3 separate regions of the Homo sapiens genome follow, and regions 2 and 3 are each linked to region 1. The links are contacts of gene promoters, found by promoter capture Hi-C in human tissues and cell types (Jung and others, 2019). All regions are on one chromosome and are shown on one strand. The core of a region is centred on a gene start or on the middle of the fragment in contact, and the rest is flanking DNA. Distances in the headings are between cores, read along the strand shown.

Region 1 (3,240 bases), core at 189-2,688:
TTTTATAGATGGGAGAAATTCAGACCCAGGAGCTTAAGTCATACACTGAATGAAGGCTGATTCCAGGGATTCCTAACCTACTGGCAGTTTCTGTCATAGCAGGTATTTTGAAGGGGGCAGGGTAGCAAGTATCAGCTGATCTCCTATTCTGAGGATGGATTTATCATCTCAGATGGGAGCTCTTATGCAGCTAGACTTCCCAGACGAAGGTGTTTTACTTCCAGACTTTGCTGTCTGAAGCCCTGGTGTTAGTCCTCACAAGATTTCCCGTGTGGCTAGGCTGTGTGAACATTCTCATTTTGTATTTCGCTGTTTGTTGATAACAATTCTCCGGAGGTAGGGGGGTAAAAAAGACCAGTGGCTCACGCCTGTAATCCCAGCACTTGGAAGACCAGGGTGAGATGATGGCTTGAGCCCAGGAGTTTGAGATCAGTCTGGGCAACATAGTGAGACCCTGTCTCTACAAAAAATTAAAATTAAAAAAATTAGTCAGGAGCAGTGGTACATGTCTGTAGTCCTAGCTACTCGGGAGGCTGACGTGGGAGGATCACTTGAGCCCAGGAAGTTGAAGCTACAGTGAACTATGATCACACCCTGTACTCCAGCCTAGGTGACAGAGTGAAACCCTGTCTCTAAACAAAAAGTTGGCTGGGCACGGTAACTCAACGCCTGTAATCCCAGCACTTCAGGAGGCCTAGGTGGAAAAATTGCTTAAGCCCAGGAGTTCTAGTACAGCATGGGCAACATAGTGAGACCTCATCTCTACAAAAACTAAAAAAATTAGCCAGGCATGGTGGTGCACCCCTGTGGTTCCAGTTACTTGGGAGGCTGAGGTGAGAGGATTGCTTGAGCCCGGGCTATCAAGGCTGCAGTGAGCTGTGATCATACCACTGCACTCCAGCCTGGATGACAGTGAGACTGTCTCAAAAAAAAAATGTTGAACTATGAATGTCATGCACACAAAGATGATGTGTGGTATCACGTCCAGAACTGGATGTAAAGTAGAAGGGCAAAGAGCGTCTCAGGCCCGGTAGGAATCTTAAAAGTCACACCCATGGGGACTTCAGTTTCCTCCCTGGCATCCATCCTGCCTGTGTCTAGCCTGGCTGGCCATTTTCTAGGTCCTTCTTCCATCTTTGGCCAGCTCTGCTTCTTAGAAAGCTCCTCTTTATAATTAGTCAAAATTTACTTCCATTAACAATCCCCACCTTCCTTTTCCCCTCTGATTGTAGTGTGACCCTCTGGGGCTACATGTGTATTTGACAGTCTTTTAGGTATTTGAGGACAGTAGCCATGCCCTTTTAAATTGTCTCTCTTCTCCAGGGTGACCATCCTAGCCTCTCCAAGCCATCCCTCACTTTACGCTAAGCACAACTTTTGGTGCATATGTGTCACACGCCCCGTTTGTGACAAGTCCGTCCCAGACACACTAATCACTTGTTGAATCAGTCCTGGGCTTTCTCATGCAACTCCATATGGCTGCCACAGTGCCCAGTCAGTGGAGGAGGCTTTTCATTGTCATCTCCACATTTCTATGGGTTTCTTGAGGACAAGGACTACTCATTCTGGGTCCCTAGTGGCTGGCACTGTGCATGGCTTTCCCTCTGTAAATAAGCATTTGCTGGAATGGGGTGGAGTTGAGACTTCTCCCTGTGTGGATCACCTTCTGTCTTCAGGTTCCAGTTTGACGATATCCCTTGCCTGGAATTACCTATGATACCCTCAGTATTATCCAGAGTTCAGTGGGGACTGCGCCCTCTCTGGTCCTGTGACTTTCCTGTAACAGTGCATCCTCAGTGTCTGTGGTCAGCTGACGTCACTAAGCCATTTTTCCACATATGCCGCTTTTCTTGTGTAATTGTCTTACTTGGGTTCCCAAACTCAGGGTCTTAATATAAGCTCTGAGGGAAAAAAAATCCCTCTGTTTTTCTGTGTCTCTGTCCCCCGGGTGTGCCTGGCACAGAGACAGGCAGCATTACCTCTGCTGACCTGAAGTGAACTCACGGTTTTCCCCATTCAGTCCTGCACTATTCGTCTCATCCCAACTCTAGGCTGCCGAGGGATCTTGGCTCCTACTCCTGTCACCTGATATGCCACCTGCCACTCCAGGCCCAGTGAATGAGCTTGTTAACACTGCCTTTCTATTCTGGGATTCGCTTGGTCATTCAGAATGGTGAAAGAGGCCAGCAATCGAGGTGCACAGGGCCTGGCAGCGTCTGGCTTTGCACACTGGACACACAGCCTATGACAGTTGGTGAAAGCCGGGCTTTTGTGACCTATCGCCAGGGTTTGAAGTCAGCCCTCCATTGACATCAGCCCTCCAGAAGTGAGGGTAGTTTTTTTGAGGCTCTTTCCAAGTAATACTTCCCAGGCTGGGCTCTGGGATCTTAGGGCTTTGGAAAGGTAGCAGCAAAGCTCGTATGATACAGCCAGTATTTGAAAAGCCACATTTTGCATTCTCTACCCTCAGTCCTTCACCAGACCAAGCGGGCTGCACATGTCAAGTTTTTGCACTGGGCTGGAGCCGAGGCAGCTTTGTAACTGGGCGGTTTCTCCTGCTTACTAGCACCTGCTTCTCGTGGGTTGTTTTTTTGTTTTTGTTTTTGTTTTTTTGAGACAGGGTCTAACTCTGTTGTCCAGGCTGGAGTGCAGTGGCATGATCTTGGTTCACTACAACCTCTGTCTCCCGGGTTCAAGTGATCCCCACACCTCAGCCTCCTGAGTAGCTGGGATTACTGGCATGAGATACCATGCCCGGCTAATTTTTGTATTTTTAGTAGAGACAGGGTTTCACCATGTTGGCCAGGCTGGTCTCAAACTCCTGACCTCAAGTGATCCCCCTGCCTCAGCCTCCCAAATCGCTGAGATTACAGGCATGAGCCACCATGCCCGGCCAAATGGTTATAGCTTTGATAAACAACAAGATCGTGATTTAGTAACAGTAGCTTGGGCGCTACCATCTCTTTAAAGCTTGGATTCCTAGGGATGATGGTAATAAGGTGTCCAGGGTGGGCTGGGGCAGGGACCACTGAGCAGAGCTCTTGGCAGAGCAGACTCTGCAGGTGGGTCTCTGAGGATAAATAAAATGATGTTTGTGGCAGATTCCAATACATAATGGGTGAGGAGTGGATGGTTCCTGACAGGCTGCTTACTGGATATGGCTGCAGTGGTAGTAGAAATGGTTTTTCAGAAACTACATGCTATTTGGACATACTATTTGGAGGTCAGTGGTCAGGGGCT
Region 2 (3,240 bases), core at 261-2,760, 290 kb after region 1:
TTTTCTACCTCCAACGGCCCGTCTCCAGTCTATTCTTTGTTTTTGTTTTTTTTTGAGGTGGAATCTCACTCTGTCGCCAAGGCTGGAGTGCAGTGGCGCAGTCTCGGCTCACTGCAACTTTCACCTCCCAGGTTCAAGCAATTCTCCTGCCTCAGCTTCCTGAGTAGCTGGGATTACAGGTGCCTGCCACCACACCTGGCTAATTTTTGTATTTTTAGTAGCGATGGGGTTTCCCCATATTGGCCAGGCTGGTCTCGAACTCTTGACCTCAGGTGATCCGCCCGGCCTCAGCCTCCCAAAGTGCTGGGATTACAGGCCTGAGCCACCACACCCGGCCCAGTCTATTCTTCAGACAGTTGCCGGGACTTTTCCAAAGTGTAGTCAACACCTCAGGTAAACTAGTCCCAATTTACCCATTCCTGCTCTCTCCTCCCAGTCCTATTCCCTGTACTACTTCTGAATCTTTGCACATATCTGTCCTTCTACCTGTTAAACTTATTCATCCTTCCCAACCTGGCTCAAATATGAAGCTTTCACATCACTTATCTTTGGCAGAGTTGGTGGTTATGCCCCTTGGCCTTCGTAGCATTGGCTATAAAATCTGTTTACATGTCTGTCTCCCCAGCCAGGCTGTATTTGTATTCCTAGTGACTGTCAGGAACAACTGCCTGGAAGGCAGGGATGTCACCTAGGCATCTCTTCATCGTCCCCTCCCTCCCAGCAGAAATCTGTCTGTGGGGGGTGCTAAGTAAAAAGATATGAATATATGCAGAGGGACAAAAAGGAAAAGATAACAAGGAGGGCTCGGTCAAGGATCTGAATCCCCCACGGTCCTTATGACAATATCACACAAATCCAGGCTTGGATAATAACGACTGTATCACACAGATCCAGGCTTAGAAAAGCAACAACTGTCAACTGTTAAACGCTTATTCTGTGCTAGGACCTGTGCTATGTAAGCGCTTTACTTGCATCGTTATTCCACTTAATCCCTTCCACAACTCCGTAAGCACCATTAACTCCACTTTGCAGACAGGGGAACTGAGGTTCAGAGGGGCAAAAAGCCTGGCCCAAGCTTGTGACACAGCCAGCCTGGGGGCACAGGGGCAATTCGAACCCCAGCCCTCTACCCAGTCCTCACCCCTGTTTCTGGAGCCTAGACCCCTGGCACGGCAGATACGTCTCTAATGGGGTCGGTAAGGGGGACTGCCCTCGGGTTTCATTTCACCCGGGAGGAGGTCGCAGCGCCCTCGGGGACCCCCAGTGTCCACGGTCGGGGCCGGGGCTGCGGCGGGTCGAGCTGGGCCGACGGGTACGACGCCGAAGAGATTAGTGCGGCGGCGGGCGGGGCCACATCAGAGGACAAGTCTGTGACTTCCTGACGCCCGTCCAGTCCGGAACCTCCGTACCTGAAACACAAGGCCACGGGTCGCTCTCCACAGCCCCAGGTCACTCCTGGACGCCTTGCGCACCCGCAGCCGATACTCCCTGATCAGGGTGAAGCGGTCTCCACCTTCTACGTCACGGTCACCGCCTCCGAAACTCCCGCCAACCAAGGGCGCATGCGCGGCCGTCAGTTTCTCGGGCACGCGCGCGCAGAACGCCTGCCTCCGGCGATGCACATGCGTACACCGCCGCCCGACGCGCATGCGTACACCGCCGTCCAACGCTCCTGCCAGCTCCGCTCCTCTAGTCCAAGTCCTTTAGGTCCTGTCTGGCCACGTCACCACCTCCCCGCAACACCCCGCCCGGGAGTCCCTTTCCGGGACCCGCCACACTATCGTGTCCTTTTGCGCCCGACGGCCCCAGAGCCCATCTAAGATGGGGGAAACAGAGGCCCGGAGAGATTCTTGCCGGAGGAATACAGCGCCTCAAAGGGCATCTGATGCCCTGTCCCCGTCGCTAGGCTCTGGTTCCCACTCCCTTTATCTCCTTAACTCCCAAAATGTGGACCGTGACTCTCCCCAGGGTGGACTGGAGCTCTGAGCTCAGTTTGCCTCACAGTCTATCCCACTCCTGCTCTAGGACTTTTTCTCTCTCATTTCCAGGCCACTCCCTCAAACGGCTTGCTTTACTTGCTTGGTGGGTGGGGGCCTGCCCTCGGGTTTCATTTCACCCGGGAGGAGGTCGCAGCGCCCCCAAGTGGTCGCAGTGTCCTTAGTCGGGGTCGGGGGGTGCGGCAGGTCGGGCTGGTCCTTAGGGGTAGGACGGGGACAGGGCATCAGATGCCCTTTGAGGCGCTATATTCCCAGGCGCTGTTCCCTCTGCCTGGGAAGGCTTTCCCTGCTTTTCCTAGCTACATCCTCCAATTTTTTTGTATTTTGAGACGGAGTCTCGCTCTGTCGCCCAGGCTAGAGTGCAGTGGCGCGATCTCGGCTCCCGGCAACCTCCGCCTCCCGGGTTCGGGTTCAAGCGATTCTCCTGCCTCAGCCTCCCGAGTAGCTGGGATTACAGGCGCCCACCACCACGCCTGGCTAATTTTTGTATTTTTAGTAGAGACGGCCACTAAAAATGTTGGCCAGGCTGGTCGCGAACTCCTGACCTCAAGTGATCCACCCACTTCGGCCTCCCAAAGAGCTGGGATTACAGGCATGAGCCACTGCGCCCGGCCACATCCTCGAATTTTAAGCCTCAGCTAAGGAATGATTGATTTCTCTCCAAGCATTCTCTCTGGCCTTAGGCTGAAAACCAACTGTCCTTTCTGTGCTCCCAGGAGCCCAATCTGTTCCTGCTCCACTATCCCATGCTGGTCTAGGAGGCTCCAGAGAGCGGGCTGCTTCCTCAGCACCCAGCACGACGCCACCAAAATGTCCCCTTGGATGTGCACAGTCCTTTCTTTCACAGAAAAACTTCCAAATATTGAATTATAAGCAGCCCACAGTCCAAAAGAGGGGTTGGAGAGAGGCAGCTGGAGCTGACCGTGGTCATCCTTCCATAGCAGTTGTGGTCCTTGGAAAAGTTTTCTGGTGGGAGACAAAAATCTGCCTTCCTGAAATTTCCACCCTGTGGTTCCAGCCTGCTGGCTGCAGCAGCCATTCTGAAAGCAGAGATTTGCCCTTGGCTCCCTGAATATCACTTTCTGGGGTTGAGAGGTACCCAGTTCCTTTTATGCTTGCCTGCCTCTTAAACTCCTCTCTGTCAACGTGCCAGGAAGAGAACTCAGTGTTCCTTCCCAGCTAGGGCTGGCCATCCTGGGGCACAATGAGAAAATGATTTCATGGAATACAGACCCAATACATC
Region 3 (3,240 bases), core at 357-2,856, 260 kb after region 1:
AGAAGTCCGCAGGGTAAGACTGAGGCTAAGACCCTGTTTTGTGAACGTGTAATTCTAATTGGGAAAATCAAGCAGGGAAGGCTTCACAGAGAAGGTGGTGATTTAGTGGAGCCTTTGAAATGTGGAGGAGGATTTGCTAAGGGAGAAAAACGACAGTTTGAGCTAGTTATTTTGGGGGAGAAACATTCACATATTTTTATAGCTGTTCATTTGGAACTTTAAATCATGGGAGGCTTCTTAAATTCAGCACCACTCTATCAATGTTCTCTTTCTCTTCTTGCTTTATCTTAAATACTGAAATGTTCAAGCCCAACCTTGGGGCAAAGGCAGAAAGCCTCGGACAGAAAGCCCCGGAATGAGGTGAGTGCTAGCCAAATCTGCTCTGTCACCTCCAAGTCCAGCCCGCCCAGCTAGCCCAGTCAGCCCAGTCCTGCTCTCTTGGCAGGAAAGGAAGGCTAATAATATCCCCTGAGGGCCAGGGTAAGGGGGGGGGGGGGCGCGGCGGGGGTGATCTGGATGCCAGCAGGCAAGGATCACTCTTGTTCTGTCAGTAAGCCACCAAAGGAAAGCTTCCCTGCTTCCTAATCCACGGGGCTCCTAGTCTACCTGTGATAGGGAGGCCAGCTCTGCAGGAAGAAAAAAAGGGCTTCATGACAAGGAAGGGGGAAGCATTTGGATTGGGAAGTGCAGAGGTGGTTATGCGAGGTTATCTTAATAAAATGCTTAGCAAGATCCCTGGCACACAGCGAGCGGTGGAAGAACGTTAGCTCTTATATTAATAACACTATTATTATTACAGTAACACCTCAATTGTACTCCGACAACAAGAAAATCTTTTTTGTGCAGCCTACTTTTACGACGTTCGAGAGCAACTTCAGAGATGACAAGTGATTTCAAAATTTTTTCAAAGGTACGAGATCAAATTCCAACCGCACTGGCCTGAGAGCCCGAGACCCTGAGTTGAGAGCTGACCCTGCCACTTGTCAGCTGCGTGACCTTGGGCATGGCACTTCACCTTTCCGTGCCTCAGTTTCCTCGGCTGTTAAGTGGGGCTAAGAAGCCTCTCCCCGGTAGGGTAGTCGTAGGGTCCCGTTAGAGGATGCCCTCTGCTGCTCTGGGGCCGGACGGGTGCAAGGGCTGCTCACGGCCCCTCTTCCAAGCATCTGGGCTCTTGGAGCGGGCGAGGTAGATGGATGAGCAACCCCAAGGCCCACCAAGCTCTGCCGCCTGCAGAGCCAGAGCGAGAGAAGGGTTCGCGCCTGCGGGGGGCGTCCCTGTGACCCAGGGTGTTGAGCCCGGAGGGAGGCTCTCTTGCTACCCACACGCTGTCGCCGGCGGGCTGGGCGCGGGGAGCGGCCGAGGAAAGCCGGGCTGACCTGGGTCCGGCGGGCGGGCGGGGCGGGGCAGAGGGCCCCGGGGGCACGGGGGAGGCAAGCAGCACGGGCCACCAGGGCCTCGCCGTGCCGCGGAGATGATGCGGGGAAGGAGCAGGGCAAAGGAGCGACGCCCCCGAATGCGGCGCCGCGCGCCCCCCGCGGGCCGGGCGGAGGCGCTCACTCACCTGAGGCGCGGGCACCCGCCGTCAGTGCAGCAGCAGCGGCGGCGGCGGCGGCGGCGGCGGCGGCGGCGGCGGCGGCGAGAGGGGCGGGGGAGGTGCTGCGGTCCGCGCAGGCGCGCCGAGGACGCCAGGGCGGCGCATGAGTGCTGTGCCCGTCCACCTCGGGAACTACCGAGAAGATGGTGGCTGAGCCAGGAGAGGCCGGCGGCGCCATCTTTGATGTAGTTTTTCTTGCTGCGGAGTTTCCTCAGAGAAGAATCTCAGATTTTGGAGGCGCTGGGCGGCAGGGCCATTGAGCTCTGCGTCTGGAGCGCTTCCCTCAGTTCCCTGAGTCGCATCCTTATGAAGCCCCTAAGAGCTCTTGCAGGGTATGGCATCCTCCTTTTAAGGTGACCTAGAGCCATACCCAAGGTCACAGGGCGCCTAGCACAGTGCTCGGCACGTGGAAAGAGCTTAGTAAATTTTTGGTGAATGAACATAGTAATTTAAGAACTAGAGTCCAAGACTCAGGGCTCCGAATTACCAGTCCTCCATTGTATCACCCCTATTACAACCGTCAGCCAAATCATCTACTTTCTTGAATGCAACATTAGAGATGGAATTTTTTTTCCCAGAATGATTGCAGATATTAAACTTAATGACCCAACAATTTAACACCAAAATGTACAGGACACACTCTTCCTCTATTTATTATCTATTATTTCTTTACCATTAAGTACCACTGACTAAAAGTTTTTTTGTTTTGTTTTGTTTTGTTTTTTGAGACGGAGTCTCACTCTGTCGCCAGGCTGGAGTGCACTAGCGCGATCTCGGCTCACTGCAACCTCTGCCTCCTGGGTTCAAGCGATTCTCCTGCCTCAGCCTCCCGAGTAGCTGGCACTGTAGGCGTGTGCCACCGGGCCTGGCTAATTTTTCTATTATTAGTAGAGACGGGTTTTCACCGTGTTGGCCAGGATGGTCTCGATCTCTTGACCTCGTCATCTGCCCGCCTCGGCCTCCCAAAGTGCTGGGATTACAGGTGTGTGAGCCACCACGCCCTTTTAACCCGAGCCAGTGTCGCCATCTCGGCTCAGGTTCCCAAGTCCCTCAGCCTCCCAAGTAGCTGGGACTAGAGGCGGGCGCCACCATGCCTGGGTAATTTTTGTATTTTTTTTTTTTTAGTAGAGATGGGGTTTCACCATGTTGGCCAAGCTGGTCTCAAACTCCTGACCTCAAGCAATCCGCCTGCTTCTGCGTCCCAAAGTGCTGGGATTACAGGTGTGAGCCACCACGCCCGGCCACTAAAAGCATATTCTTTTAATTAAGGCAAACTGAACAAATGAATATTACCAAACATCTCAGAGGGCAGCAATAATATTGTTATTCATCAAGCACAATTCTTGAACTGAATTTAGTTGGAAGGAAAACTAACATTAATTGAGCACAGCCATTTATTTTATGGTTTATGTTCGTTAACATTTACTGAATTCAAATTAGTTCTAGTTCACCATCCACTATTTATCCCTATGTCCTTGGTTAGACAATTAAGTCTCTCCACACCTCTCCATGCCCGAATTCCTCATCTATGTCACACACCCAGAAATAGAAGTTACAAGGTTGTGGCAAAGACTGAATGATAATATGCATGTAAAATGCTTAGAGCTCAGTAAGTATTATTTTTCTTTGTTCTATCGTATTTTACT

The links. Contacts are between HindIII fragments. The study calls those that stand out against the background at their distance.
Region 2: a contact is called between the fragment with the promoter of DSN1 here and a fragment that was not itself captured in region 1, in 3 of the 25 tissues and cell types used here (adrenal gland, heart left ventricle and lymphoblastoid cells).
Region 3: a contact is called between the fragment with the promoter of NDRG3 here and a fragment that was not itself captured in region 1, in 3 of the 25 tissues and cell types used here (H1 embryonic stem cells, dorsolateral prefrontal cortex and lymphoblastoid cells).

The regions. Positions count from the first base shown.
Region 1 is chr20:36,480,077-36,483,316 of GRCh38, forward strand. All of the region lies in intron 7 of DLGAP4 (DLG associated protein 4), which reads left to right. Among named protein-coding and RNA genes, the nearest start is that of MYL9, 60 kb to the right of the region's middle. The HindIII fragment of the contact is 6,952 bases long and covers 1-3,240 here.
Region 2 is chr20:36,772,253-36,775,492 of GRCh38, forward strand. DSN1 (DSN1 component of MIS12 kinetochore complex) reads right to left here and starts at 1,511. Exons shown (of 11, transcript NM_001145315.2): 1 at 1,410-1,511. It overlaps LOC124904894 (a long non-coding RNA gene), which reads left to right and starts at 2,883. Exons shown (of 2, transcript XR_007067574.1): 1 at 2,883-2,966. RefSeq lists enhancers at 1,270-1,815, 1,437-1,496, 1,627-1,766, 1,777-1,856, 1,816-2,362. The HindIII fragment of the contact is 22,977 bases long and covers 803-3,240 here.
Region 3 is chr20:36,744,484-36,747,723 of GRCh38, forward strand. It overlaps NDRG3 (NDRG family member 3), which reads right to left and starts at 1,607. Exons shown (of 16, transcript NM_032013.4): 1 at 1,562-1,607. RefSeq lists enhancers at 1,070-2,036, 1,761-1,860 and silencers at 1,231-1,420, 1,451-1,650. The HindIII fragment of the contact is 7,851 bases long and covers 1-3,240 here.